3 separate regions of the Homo sapiens genome follow, and regions 1 and 3 are each linked to region 2. Evidence: promoter capture Hi-C in 16 types of primary human blood cells and fetal thymus (Javierre and others, 2016). All regions are on one chromosome and are shown on one strand. Each heading gives the region's core, a stretch centred on a gene start or on the middle of the fragment in contact. The rest is flanking DNA. Distances are from core to core; before and after follow the strand shown. Region 1 holds the start of C2orf72 (chromosome 2 open reading frame 72). Region 2 holds the start of B3GNT7 (UDP-GlcNAc:betaGal beta-1,3-N-acetylglucosaminyltransferase 7). Region 3 holds the start of SPATA3-AS1 (SPATA3 antisense RNA 1).

Evidence for each region. The method cuts DNA at HindIII sites, captures the fragments that hold promoters and counts their contacts. A CHiCAGO score of 5 or more calls a contact.
Region 1: the fragment with the promoter of C2orf72 here is called in contact with the fragment with the promoter of B3GNT7 in region 2 in 7 of 17 cell types (erythroblasts, M0 macrophages, neutrophils and 4 more); the score reaches 9.2 in erythroblasts.
Region 3: a contact is called between the fragment with the promoter of SPATA3-AS1 here and the fragment with the promoter of B3GNT7 in region 2, in 3 of 17 cell types (fetal thymus, naive B cells and neutrophils). The highest score is 6.7, in fetal thymus.

Annotation. Positions count from the first base shown.
Region 1 is chr2:231,035,462-231,038,971 of GRCh38, reverse strand. C2orf72 (chromosome 2 open reading frame 72) reads right to left here and starts at 1,449. Exons shown (of 3, transcript NM_001144994.2): 1 at 773-1,449. The coding sequence starts at 1,406. The HindIII fragment of the contact is 4,632 bases long and covers 1-3,510 here.
Region 2 is chr2:231,393,998-231,397,502 of GRCh38, reverse strand. B3GNT7 (UDP-GlcNAc:betaGal beta-1,3-N-acetylglucosaminyltransferase 7) reads right to left here and starts at 1,793. Exons shown (of 2, transcript NM_145236.3): 1 at 1,689-1,793. The coding sequence starts at 1,699. RefSeq lists enhancers at 182-251, 1-393, 2,662-2,711, 3,007-3,505 and a silencer at 1,642-2,111. The HindIII fragment of the contact is 8,411 bases long and covers 1-2,378 here.
Region 3 is chr2:230,993,894-230,997,526 of GRCh38, reverse strand. It overlaps SPATA3-AS1 (SPATA3 antisense RNA 1), which reads left to right and starts at 1,495. Exons shown (of 6, transcript NR_033879.1): 1 at 1,495-1,679; 2 at 2,142-2,250. SPATA3 (spermatogenesis associated 3) reads right to left here and starts at 1,406. Exons shown (of 5, transcript NM_139073.5): 1 at 993-1,406. The coding sequence starts at 1,293. RefSeq lists an enhancer at 1,362-1,895. The HindIII fragment of the contact is 18,304 bases long and covers 1-3,633 here.

The sequences.
Region 1 (3,510 bases), core at 200-2,699, 360 kb after region 2:
TGACCCTTCTGCTGATGGCAGCAGTCACGGGGGCTGGGAAAAGACCCTTAAATCCCTTCCACCTTTCAGGAGAATGTGGAGGGAAAAGGTGGCCTCAGCAGACCTGGGGGAGGCTGAGGGACACAGCAGTTGGGTGCACAGCCTTGGTGGGTGGCCAGAAATCAATAGAAAATGTACTCTTAGTCCCTCTCACCTCCCCACACGTCAAGTCCCGAGCACCCATTCCTTGCCCTCTTCCTAAAACCAGGCAGGGCTTCCAGGACGAGCCTCCACCGCGCTGGAGATGCCCCTCCGCCCCTCCTAGAGCTCCCGACGCATCTCTGGCTGCGCAGCGCCCTAGAATTTAGCTTCTGGCACCGCCAATCTCCTTAGCACCCATCCACCCCCTTGAAACTTTCCCATCCCAAGGCTTTCCCATTTCCTTCCCCACTCCTCTTCTCTCCCCACCCCCACCCACCCCGTAACTCCTAGATCTCGGCCTTGCCCGATTCATCCCTTCTCTCTACCCACTCCCTCTGCCTTCTACTCGGCCCCTCAGCTTTCCCACGCCCCCTAGGCATCTCCCGTGCACTCCGGACCCTTCCGGGACAGACTCGATCCGCTACGCACGGCCCGCTCTCCGCTAGCTGCGAGGCCTGGCTCTAGGCACCTCCCTGCTCTGAGCCTCAGTTTACCTCGGTGCTCAATAAGGGAATGGCCAAAGGGGTCCAACTTGGGGGACGTGCCCGAGCCACCGCCCGCCCGCGCCCAGCCGGGCCCCGCGCAGTCTCACCTGGTTGCCCGGCTCCGGCGGCTTGCAGGGCCCTGCAGGCGGCCGCCTGGACGGCCAGGCAGGAGGCCGGGAGGCCGGGGCAGTAGGCGGCCGCCTGCACGGGCCCCCCCGCCTGGCGGCCGAACACGGCGCGCAACAGCGCCTCCAGCAGCCGCAGCCCCGGCGCCACCGCGTCCTCTGGCCCGGCCTCGGCCACCAGCACCCCGACCAGCGCCGCCCCGGCCCGCCGCCGGCCGCGCACGTCCCGCAGCATCTCCCGCAGGCGGCGCCGCGGCTCCCGGGCGGCCAGCGACGACGCGCGGCACAGCACGAAGACCAGCGGCGAGCGGATGGCGCGCGCCGCCGCCGCCGCCGCCCCCGCCGCCCCAGCCGCCCTCGCCGCCCTCTGCGCCCCGCGCGCCGCCCCGGGCCCCGCGCCCTCTGCCGCCGCGCCGCCCGGCTTGGCCGCGCCTGGCTCCGGCGGGAACACCGCCCGTGCGAAGTCCCGCAGCAGCGCGCGGCTCTGTTCGCGCTCCCACAGCTCGCCCACCAGCAGCACCTGCCCGCGGCCCCCCGCCGCTTCCACCAACGCCTGGAAGGGCGGCTCGGCAGGGCGCGCAAGCCGGGCCGCCAGCGCCTCCAGCTCGCGCTCCATGCTGGCCGCCGCCCGCCCTCTGCGGCCGCCGCGGCCCGGGCGCACCCGCTGCCCGCCTCTCGGGGCGGTGGCGCCCCGGCACAGAGGACACGCCCCCGAGGGCCGAGCCCAGCCGGACCCCCGGGCCCCCGGGCGGGGCCTCTGTGTGCACGCGCCCCTGGGCGCAGCCCGCATCGCGGGCCCGGGTGGGAGGAAGAGGGCTTTCTCCTCAGCCCTCCAAGGGTGGCTCCTCCCGAAGTCCCTGCGCAGACGCGGGGAAACAGAGAGTCATTCATTCATTCATTTGTTCGTCCATCCCACACATACTTACTGCGCACCTACTATGTGCAGGCGCTGGGCAGCCGAGGTTGGGAAGACAGACAATTATCCCCTCACTAGATAAGATCGTTTGGAGACCTGGAGCAGAGTCCTGCACAGTTTGGGGTCTTGCCGAGGTGGGGTGGGAGGTAGGGGGGTAGGGGGCGGAGGGCGCAGAAGTGGGTAGGAAGGTGAGATAAAAGAGAACACGCAGGGGTTATTTCTGCCACCCAGCTTTCCTTTTGGGCTTCAACATTTAGCAAAAACTGACCGAGGGTCCATTATTTCCACAAATACTTATTGTACCACCCCAGGCGCTGGGGTTGAAACCCAGACTGTTTCCGTAAAGCAGAAAGTCTAGGGGGCCAGATGCAGGACACGGATGGTGCTCTGATCTGCGTGGGGAGCAAGGGGCCAGCCAGGTCAGAAGCAGGAATGCATTTCCCTTCCTTCTAAGGATCTAGGTCAGCCTTGTCCAATAGAACATTCTGTGATGATGGAAAACTTTTTTATTGTCTGCACCATATGTGACTATTATTGAGTACCTGAAATCTGGCGAGTGCAACTGAAGAACTGAGTATTACATTTCACGTAATTTGTAATGAAATGTAAAATTAAAGCAGAAAGTGACAAGATGATAATGTACTTAAAGGGCTGGCACCTTTCTCTGAATAGTACCCTAAAGACGCCGCAGAAGCAAGAGGGGAGTTGGTAAGGACTCTGAGAAACCAATGTAAAACCAGGGAAGGCCTGTCGCCTCCTCCCCTCAGTGCCATAGAAGGGGGATAGGCTGAGTGAACGCTATACACTTGTGCTCTTTTCTTTGCTTGCATTGGCCTGAGTAGACCATTTCTCAACCCCATCTCCCCAGCACTGCTGGGAGGCAGAAAACAGCTGTGCTAGCCAGGGATGGCATATCAGGCTGGGGCTAGCAGCACAGAAAAACCAGACCCGGCAGCCTCTTCTTCCCACTTCATGGGTCAGGAATTCCAACCACGAGACCTGCCTCATGAAAGAGGATTGGCCAGGGGAGAGTGCCCAGAAGCTCCCTGAGTGGGGTGTCTGGTGTGTGTGAGGGTGGCACATGGGGAGTGGCTACATTCACATTTGATGCCAGAGGCAAGTCCCATCACACCCCCATTCCTTAAGCTCCCAGGTGGGATATATAGGAAGAGCCTAGGTTTTAGTCTCTTCCAGGTGTACCTATCGCCAACCAAAGTAGCTGATATCTAGGGAAACATGAATTCACTGGGAAAAATAATTAGACTTCTGGGGCCGGGCGCTGTGGCTTGTGTCTGTAATCCCAGCACTTTGGGAGGCCAAGGCAGGTGGATCACCTGAGGTCGGGGATTGGAGGCCAGCCTGACCAACATGGAGAAACCCAGTCTCTACTAAAAATACAAAATTAGCCAGGCATGGTGGTGCATGCCTGTAGTCCCAGCTACTTGGGAGGCTAAGGCAGGAGAATGGCTTGAACCCAGGAGGTGGAGGTTTTGGTGAGCTGAGATCGTGCCATTGCACTCCAGCCTGGGCATCAAGAGCGAAACTCTGTCTCAAAAAATAAATAAATGAATAAAATAAAATAAAAAATAAAAAACAGTTAGGCTTCTGGAAAGTATAAAACAAAGCAGGTTTAATGGATATATGAATTAAGATTCATTTCTTAATAACACAGACAACACTAATAACAATGAAAATTTCTTTTTCTCTTTTGTAGACGTTTGGGGATGGACAGTTTATGGCTGAAATAGTATAATAGTTCTGCTTTACTAGGTGTTTGAAGACTCAGATTTCATACCAAGTCACT
Region 2 (3,505 bases), core at 544-3,043:
GACGCTTACAAGCTGAATGAGTGGTTTACAACCACTCTGAGCCACGATTTCTTCTTCCCCCAAATGGGGCTAAAACACAGGATTGGAGTGCTATATAAAGTACCAGGCAGCGGGTGCACAGTTAGGGGAATGCTGTCACCTTAACAGGAGGGCCTCAGGTGGAAACCTCTGCCCTGTTCCCCACGCCTGGAACCCCAATGCCTTTCATTTCCCTGCGGTGTACCTACCCACAGCAGTAGGTATCGGTATCATTAGGTGACTCAGAGCCAGAGTCATTGAGAGGGCACCCTCTGATCCTCTGTGCCGCCCGGGAGCTCCATCACATGTGGGGCACATTGGAGAGTGGCTCGAGCTTGGGACCTGAGGAAGACTGGCCCTCCTCCCCCTTCTCCAGTCTGTCTCACCCAACAAAGAGCAGCCCTCATGGTTGATGGAGGCCCAAGGATGCAGTGAGCACCTCTAGCATGGCACTGCCCCTCACCCCTACCTTAACATCCCCAGCTCATAACACCCCATTAGAAGACATGAGGCTACAGCTCTACTCCCTGGGAGGGGGCACATTTGCAGCTCCAGCCCTTGAGGGACCCTTCTTGCCCAGAGACCCCCCCACCCCAACCCCGGTCCACACCCATTTCGGAAGCAGAAATTAGAGCTCTCTGCCAGGAGTGCTGGTCGTCCCAAGCCCTGGGGCCTGAGCCCCTGTCCTGAAGGACCTCCTCTCTTCATCTCACCCTCCGGGGGCTGCCAGGACACCTGCCCCACCCTCCCCAGTGGAGACCTGGGGGCTGAGAGCTCTGGGGACAGCAGAGTGGCCTTCCAGGGCCAGCCTAGCAGAGAGATGGCGCTGACCTCCAAGGGGGAGGAGCAGGGTGCCAGGAGAGACAGGCAGCCCGTGGAGACGCCTGGGTTGCCCTGAGGGCTGGTCCGGTTGCAGGTCCAGGCCCCAGGGTGAATGCAGGCTGAGCCCCATAGAGCGACATTTTCCCCATAGGGTCCCCAGGTTGCTGGGGCATGTGGTTGGAGGAAGACAGGGGCACCTTAGGTGCAGGCTGGGGGGTGTGACCCAAGGTCCAGCTCTCCGGGGAGGAAACGGAGGGCTCCGGATCCGGCCCTGCCAGCCCTAGGGGTTCCAGGGAAGCCGCCCACCGAGGCCGGGACGGGGGAGGTCGGGGGGTGCACCGGGAAGGCGGCGAGGCCCTGGGCTGCGGGCGCTCCACCTGCCGGGTCCGCTCCATTCGTAGGGAAAGCCCGGGAGGGGCGGAGAGGGGCCGGGCGGGCGGCGGTCCGAGGTCCCGCGGAAGGAAGCCCCGAGAGGAGGAGAGTGGCCCGGACGCAGGGGGCCCTCAGGGGTCTGGAAGGGAGAGGGGACCCAGCTGCCGGCAAGACCTGGGGTCCCAGCCGCCAGGGTCCTGGAGCGGTGTCCAGGGCCGCGGGGCCGGGGAGCTGAGCGCGGCGCCCCGAGACCCCTCGACGTCCCCCACGGGTCCGGGGCCGCGTACCGCGAACATCTCCCGCCGCCGCCGCCGCGCCCGCCCGCCCATCCGCCCCCGGGAAACTGAGGCCGGCGCGGCGCGCGCGGGGGCATCTCCTATCCCGGGAGTCCCGGCGCCCGTCTGTGGCCACGGAGGAGGGGGAGCCCCGGGCCCACGCCCCCGCCCAGGCCCCCGACGGCCCCCAGCCCCACTCACCACAGCGACATGGCGGCCCGGGCCGGAGCGGCGGAGGGGCGAGCGGCTCGCAGCTCTGGGCGCCACGGCTCGGGCCGGCGGGACGGCGGGCGGGTGGGGACGGAGACCGGGCCGCGCCCCCGCCGCGACTTTCCTCTTCCCGGCCGCGGGAGGAGGGGCCGGCAGGGGCGGTGGCCCAGGTGCCTTAACCCCTTCGGCGCCCAGGGCCCGCCCCGCCGCCGCCTGGCGGGGACCACCCCATTTCTCCGAGACGGCCCCTAGGCTCCCCAAGCGCGCCTAGTAGACAGTGCATGGCCGAGGCGGGGCTTCGGAACCCACGGGGGTCACCTCCAATCCCGGGGACGCCTGTCCCTGGCGGAGCCTCCCGGGGCGGGGGGAGGGCGGTCGCCGGTCCCTCCTGTACTTGTGCGAAACCTGAACACCCGGTCCCCTCCAAGACCCTGGGGCACCCCAAGGCCCAGCCATTTCCCTCTGGCCCCATTCGGACTTGTCTTTGGGGCCAGAGGCAGACAGGGTGTCCTTTTCTCCCTCTGCTACCTTCTGCCCCTGCACCTTTCCCCTGACCAGACGGACCCCTTGCCCAGCTGTTGGGCTACCTAGGGCCAGGAGCAAAGCCAGCCACTAGGGAAAGAGGCCGTATGAGACTGGGCTCCATGTCAGGACTCGCCCAGGCCTGTGGCTCTGGAAGCTTTTTTTGTGCCCCCACCATGTCCCTCTCTTCACCTCTGGGGTTCCTCCCACCTCTGAGGGCTCCCCACCACCAAGGGAAGGCCTGTTGGCCCAGCCCTATCTCCTTTCTTTTTTCACTTATCACTCAAAACCCTTTTTGTCCTCAAGCCTTTATTAGTCTGCTTGTGCACATCAGGCCTAGCGGCTCTGGGGAGTGGGCTGACAGAGAACACGGAGAGGGCTTGGTCCAGCCAGGTGACTTCCAGAATCCTCCAGCAGGGAGAGCCATCGCTGGTCCTGTTGTTGCTCAGGTTGTTCTGGTCTTGTTCCGGGTTGAGGTTTCGGTGCTTAGCATCCAGCAGGACCTCCAAAAGGCCCACAGAATTGAAACGGAAGCACGTTGTGGTCCAATCATAACAGCTAACGTCCACTGAGCAGCTACAATATGCCAAACCTGGTTCTCGGCCCATGCATGACTGGCTCACTTAATCCTAGAGACATACGCTATTATTCCCACCTTACAGGGGAGGAAACGGGGGTGCAGAGGGGAACTCCCAGCCAGCTCAGAGAACAGCGAGCCCAGAGTTAGTAAGCACATCCAGGAGGCCTGCATGGCCTGAAGGCTGGCTCTGAACCCTTCCTGCCTGGTCTGAAGGCTGGCTCTGAGCCCTTCCTCAACCTTTTTTCCTTTCCCAGGGACAGCAGTGACATGGAGCTACTTTCCTGCCCAGCACACAGGGAGGCTAGGAGTCCTCAGCTGGATCTTAAGCCCTCGAGGCCAGGGTGAGGAGCCCCTTCTGCCCTATCCTTAAGGTTCAAGGGCCCTTTGGAGGGGGAGGAGAAACTTAAGGTACCATAGAATGTTCTGGAATGTTGTAAGTGCCAATTAGGGAATGTGAAGGGCCTTTCAGGCAGAATTTCAGAGGAGTATCTTGGGGCTGATGTCCTTTGTAATGGCCCTCCAAAAGTTCCAGAGCAGGGGAGGGGCTGACCTGCAGCCCAAAGCCCCTGTTGGCCTGGCTGCCTGCCACTGAGGGCCACCCGCAGATTCTGCAGCTCCACGGCTCCCTTCATCCCAGTGTAGCCTTGGCCACCGGTTCCCGCAGGGCACCAAGCATTTTGCTCCACTGCCCAGCCTTCCGAGTTCC
Region 3 (3,633 bases), core at 246-2,745, 400 kb after region 2:
ATTATTTGTTGTTTACTAAAATTAAAATTTAACTGAGAGTCTTGTATTTTGTCTGGCTATCCTATCCATGGGCCTGTATTTGTCTGTTTTCACACTGCTGATAAAGACATATCTGAGACTAGGCAATTTACAAAAGAAAGAGGTTTGTGGAACTTACAGTTCCACGTGGCTGGGGAGGCCTCACAATCATGGTGGAAGGTGAAAGGCACATCTCACATGGCGGCAGACAAGAGAAGAGAGTTTGTGCAGGGAAACTCCCTTTTTTAAAACCATTAGATCTCATGAAACTTATTCACTATCACGAGAACACCACGGAAAAGACCCTCCCCCGTGATTCAATCACTTCCCACTGGGTCCTTCCTACAACACCTGGGAATTCAAGAAGAGATTTGGGTGGGGACACAGCCAAACCACATCAGACCCTTAGATCTCTGAGGACAATAAGGAACAAGTCTATTCACATCTTCCACTTGACAGACAGACATCCTCCAATTCCTTCAATTGACTGTCATACACTAAATGGTCTCCCTGATCCTTCTCATCCTCCATCAACCCAGACTATCTTCCTTGGACTAGTTTGTCAGGCATCTTTTACAGCCCAAAAGGATAGCTTGATGAGGACAGAATAAAGCAGTATCATCACCTCCCTTATTCTAAACCATATACTTCTATAAATGCATCCTTGGTTTTTATTTTTTAGCAGTTGCATGGCACTGCTGATTCCTAGTGAGCAAGTATTACTATGGAACCAAGTTAAATGTTTATATGTATGTGTGGCTGTCTTCAGTGAGACTCAGGATGATGAGAAATGACAAAACCCAGGAATCCTGGTCTCTTGGGTAGAAACAAAAACAAAAACCTTCCCACTCTACAGCACAGCTCCAGGATACACGTTAACCATGCATCACTATCCTACAAGAACCAGCCTTTGGGATGACCCAGAACTCCATCAGCAGGAAGGCTGGAACTGCTGAAGCTAGAAGACAGCCCACCTGCTTTCCTGGATTGAGGGGCTGCCTTCACGTTAGCATCTGGAGATAAAAGGCAGCAAGAGGAGCGGCGGATTTCGGGTGCTGGAAGGGCTTGGAATGCTGGCTGCCGGGAGGTGGTTTCAAGGCTGGAATGCTGTGGTGTGGATTCAGGGCTAGGCTGCTGTGGTGTGGATTCAGGACTAGGCTGCTGTGGTGTGGATTCAGGGCTAGGCTGCTGAGAGGTGGAATTGGAGCTAGCATGCTGGGAGGTGGAGTCTCGGTGGCGTCTGGCCTCTGACCTTTTCTTCTTGACCTTCTTCATGGTAGATCCTCCCAACCTAAACGTGGACCTACATGGAGCTGCGTAATCTCCCGGCTCCCTCCTGGAGGGGCCGTTTGCCCTCTGCCCTAGGAGCCTGGCTTGGGCCTCCAGCTGGACCCAGGCCCCACAGAGAACAGTGACCCACACCTCCTGTGAGGTCATAAAAGCCAGGGTGGCTCCTATGGCAGGGCTTCAAGGGACAGTCTTCTCTGCAGACACCAGCCTGGTGTCCTCCTTCATCCCAGGCTGCCAGGCTAGGCAGGGGACAGCGGCTGCCCTGGTCCTCACAGCCCTGGCTACGGGGCTGGTGACAGCCAGATCCTCATGCTTCTGCGACCTGAGCGCTGCCTTCAGACACCTCTCTGCTGGCGTGTTCCTGGGTCCATGTGAGCTACCTGTTTTGCTCTAAGATACCCTGGATGTGACGCTCAGCTCTGTCACTGGCTTCCACATACCCCCTACTCCTACACCTCAAAAATCCATGTTCCCCACGCATTCATCTTCAGGTCAGCTTCCTGAAGATTTGGAGCTTCTTCGAAGGCTTTACCATGGCCCAGAGCCTGCTACCATCTCAGAGTAGCTTACCCCTTCCCCCAAAGCCTGCCCTCCCGCACTGTGGGAGGGGAGTTTGGGGGTTGACTTGACTTTTATAAGAACCTTTGCATTTGGCAGATAATTTTCCCTGAGAACATAACAGCTGTTCAGAAAACTAACATTTGTCTCAAACTCATGGCAATGGCAACCACAGACTATCTCCCAAACCCCAATTGGTTGGGTTAAACAGGTGACTGAATCTTTCTCTAGATTAATTAATTTAATGTGCTCATTAAATGTGATTTTTGTTTTAGGATGGAAGAAGGAAAAGTATTTTTAAAAGACAATCTGAAGCTCATACTGTGACTGCAACATAAAATGTGTTCACCTGAGGAGACTGCTTTCATCGCCAGTGTGTCACAGGTGGGTGAGTGTGGGACTGGCAAGCGCAGGAGCTCCTGCCCCAGCGGAAGGTTTAGAGCAGACCTATGCAGATAAAAAGGGCTTCGGTCACGCCTGTAATCCCAGCACTTTGGGAGGCTGAGGCGGGCAGATCACGAGGTCAGGAGATTGAGACCATCCTGGCTGACATGGTGAAACCCCGTCTCTACTAAAAATACAAAAAATTAGCCGGGCGTGGTGGTGGGTGCCTGTAGTCCCAGCTACTCGGCAGGAGAATGGCGTGAACCTTGGAGGTGGAGCTTTCAGTGAGCCGAGATCGTGCCACTGCACTCCAGCCTGGGCGACAGAGCGAGACTCTGTCTTAAAAAAAAATGGGGGGCTTTGGGCCACACAAAGCCAGACCCAACATGAACTCTGAAATGACAGGACATAGTTTAGGGCTTCTAGAGCCTAAAAATACCTTAATGATGACCTTTCCTCAGAACACTGAGGTTTAGCGAAATTAAGTTACTTTCCCAGGGTCACACAGCTGGCTGGGGGCATCGGAAGGACTAAATTCCAGTTTGGGGCTCATTATTTTCATGATCCCAGAAAACAATAGGGAGTCAGATAATTATACAGGCTTTGAAATAATGAATTAAAAAGTCCCCCAGTGGCCTGGTGCGGTGGCTCACGCCTATAATCCCAGCACTTTGGGAGGCTGAGGCGGGCAGATCATGAGGTCAAGAGATTGAGACCATCCTGGCCAACCAACATGGTGAAAACCTGTCTCTACTAAAAATACAAAAATTAGCTGGGCATGGTGGTGCACGCCTGTAGTCCCAGGTACTCAGGAGGCTGAGGCAGGAGAATCACTTGAACCTGTGAGGCGGAGGTTGTGGTGAGCCGAGATTGTGCCACTGCACTCCAGCCTGACGACAGAGTGAGACTCGTCTCAAAAAAAAAAAAAAGGTCCCTGAGCGAGAAGATTGAAGAAAACAAAGGCAGGAAGGATCAGAAGTGAAGGCAAGCTCAGCTCAAGAGTATTGGGTTGTGTTTGGTTGACCTTGGCCTAAGGAGGCTCTGGGAGCAAGTGAATCTGTATGAAGCTGGTAATTTCCTGAAGCCAAGAGCAATGGAACCCTTGAGGGGACTCCATTTAGAATCAGAGAGACTGGAAACCGAGGCCGGGAACCCTGTTGAGATCTAGCAGACAGCTCAGGAACTCCTAAGGCATTAATCTCTGCAAAGTTGGATTTTCAGGTACCAATGGGCTTCGGCCGAGGGCCTCAACCTGGTTTAAATCAGTGTTTTTCAACCTCAGCCCTGTTGACATTTTTGGGCTGAGTAATTCTTTGTTGTGGCGGGTCATCCTGTGTATTGTAGGAAGTTTACCAGATCCCTGGTCTTTACCCAGTCTTTACT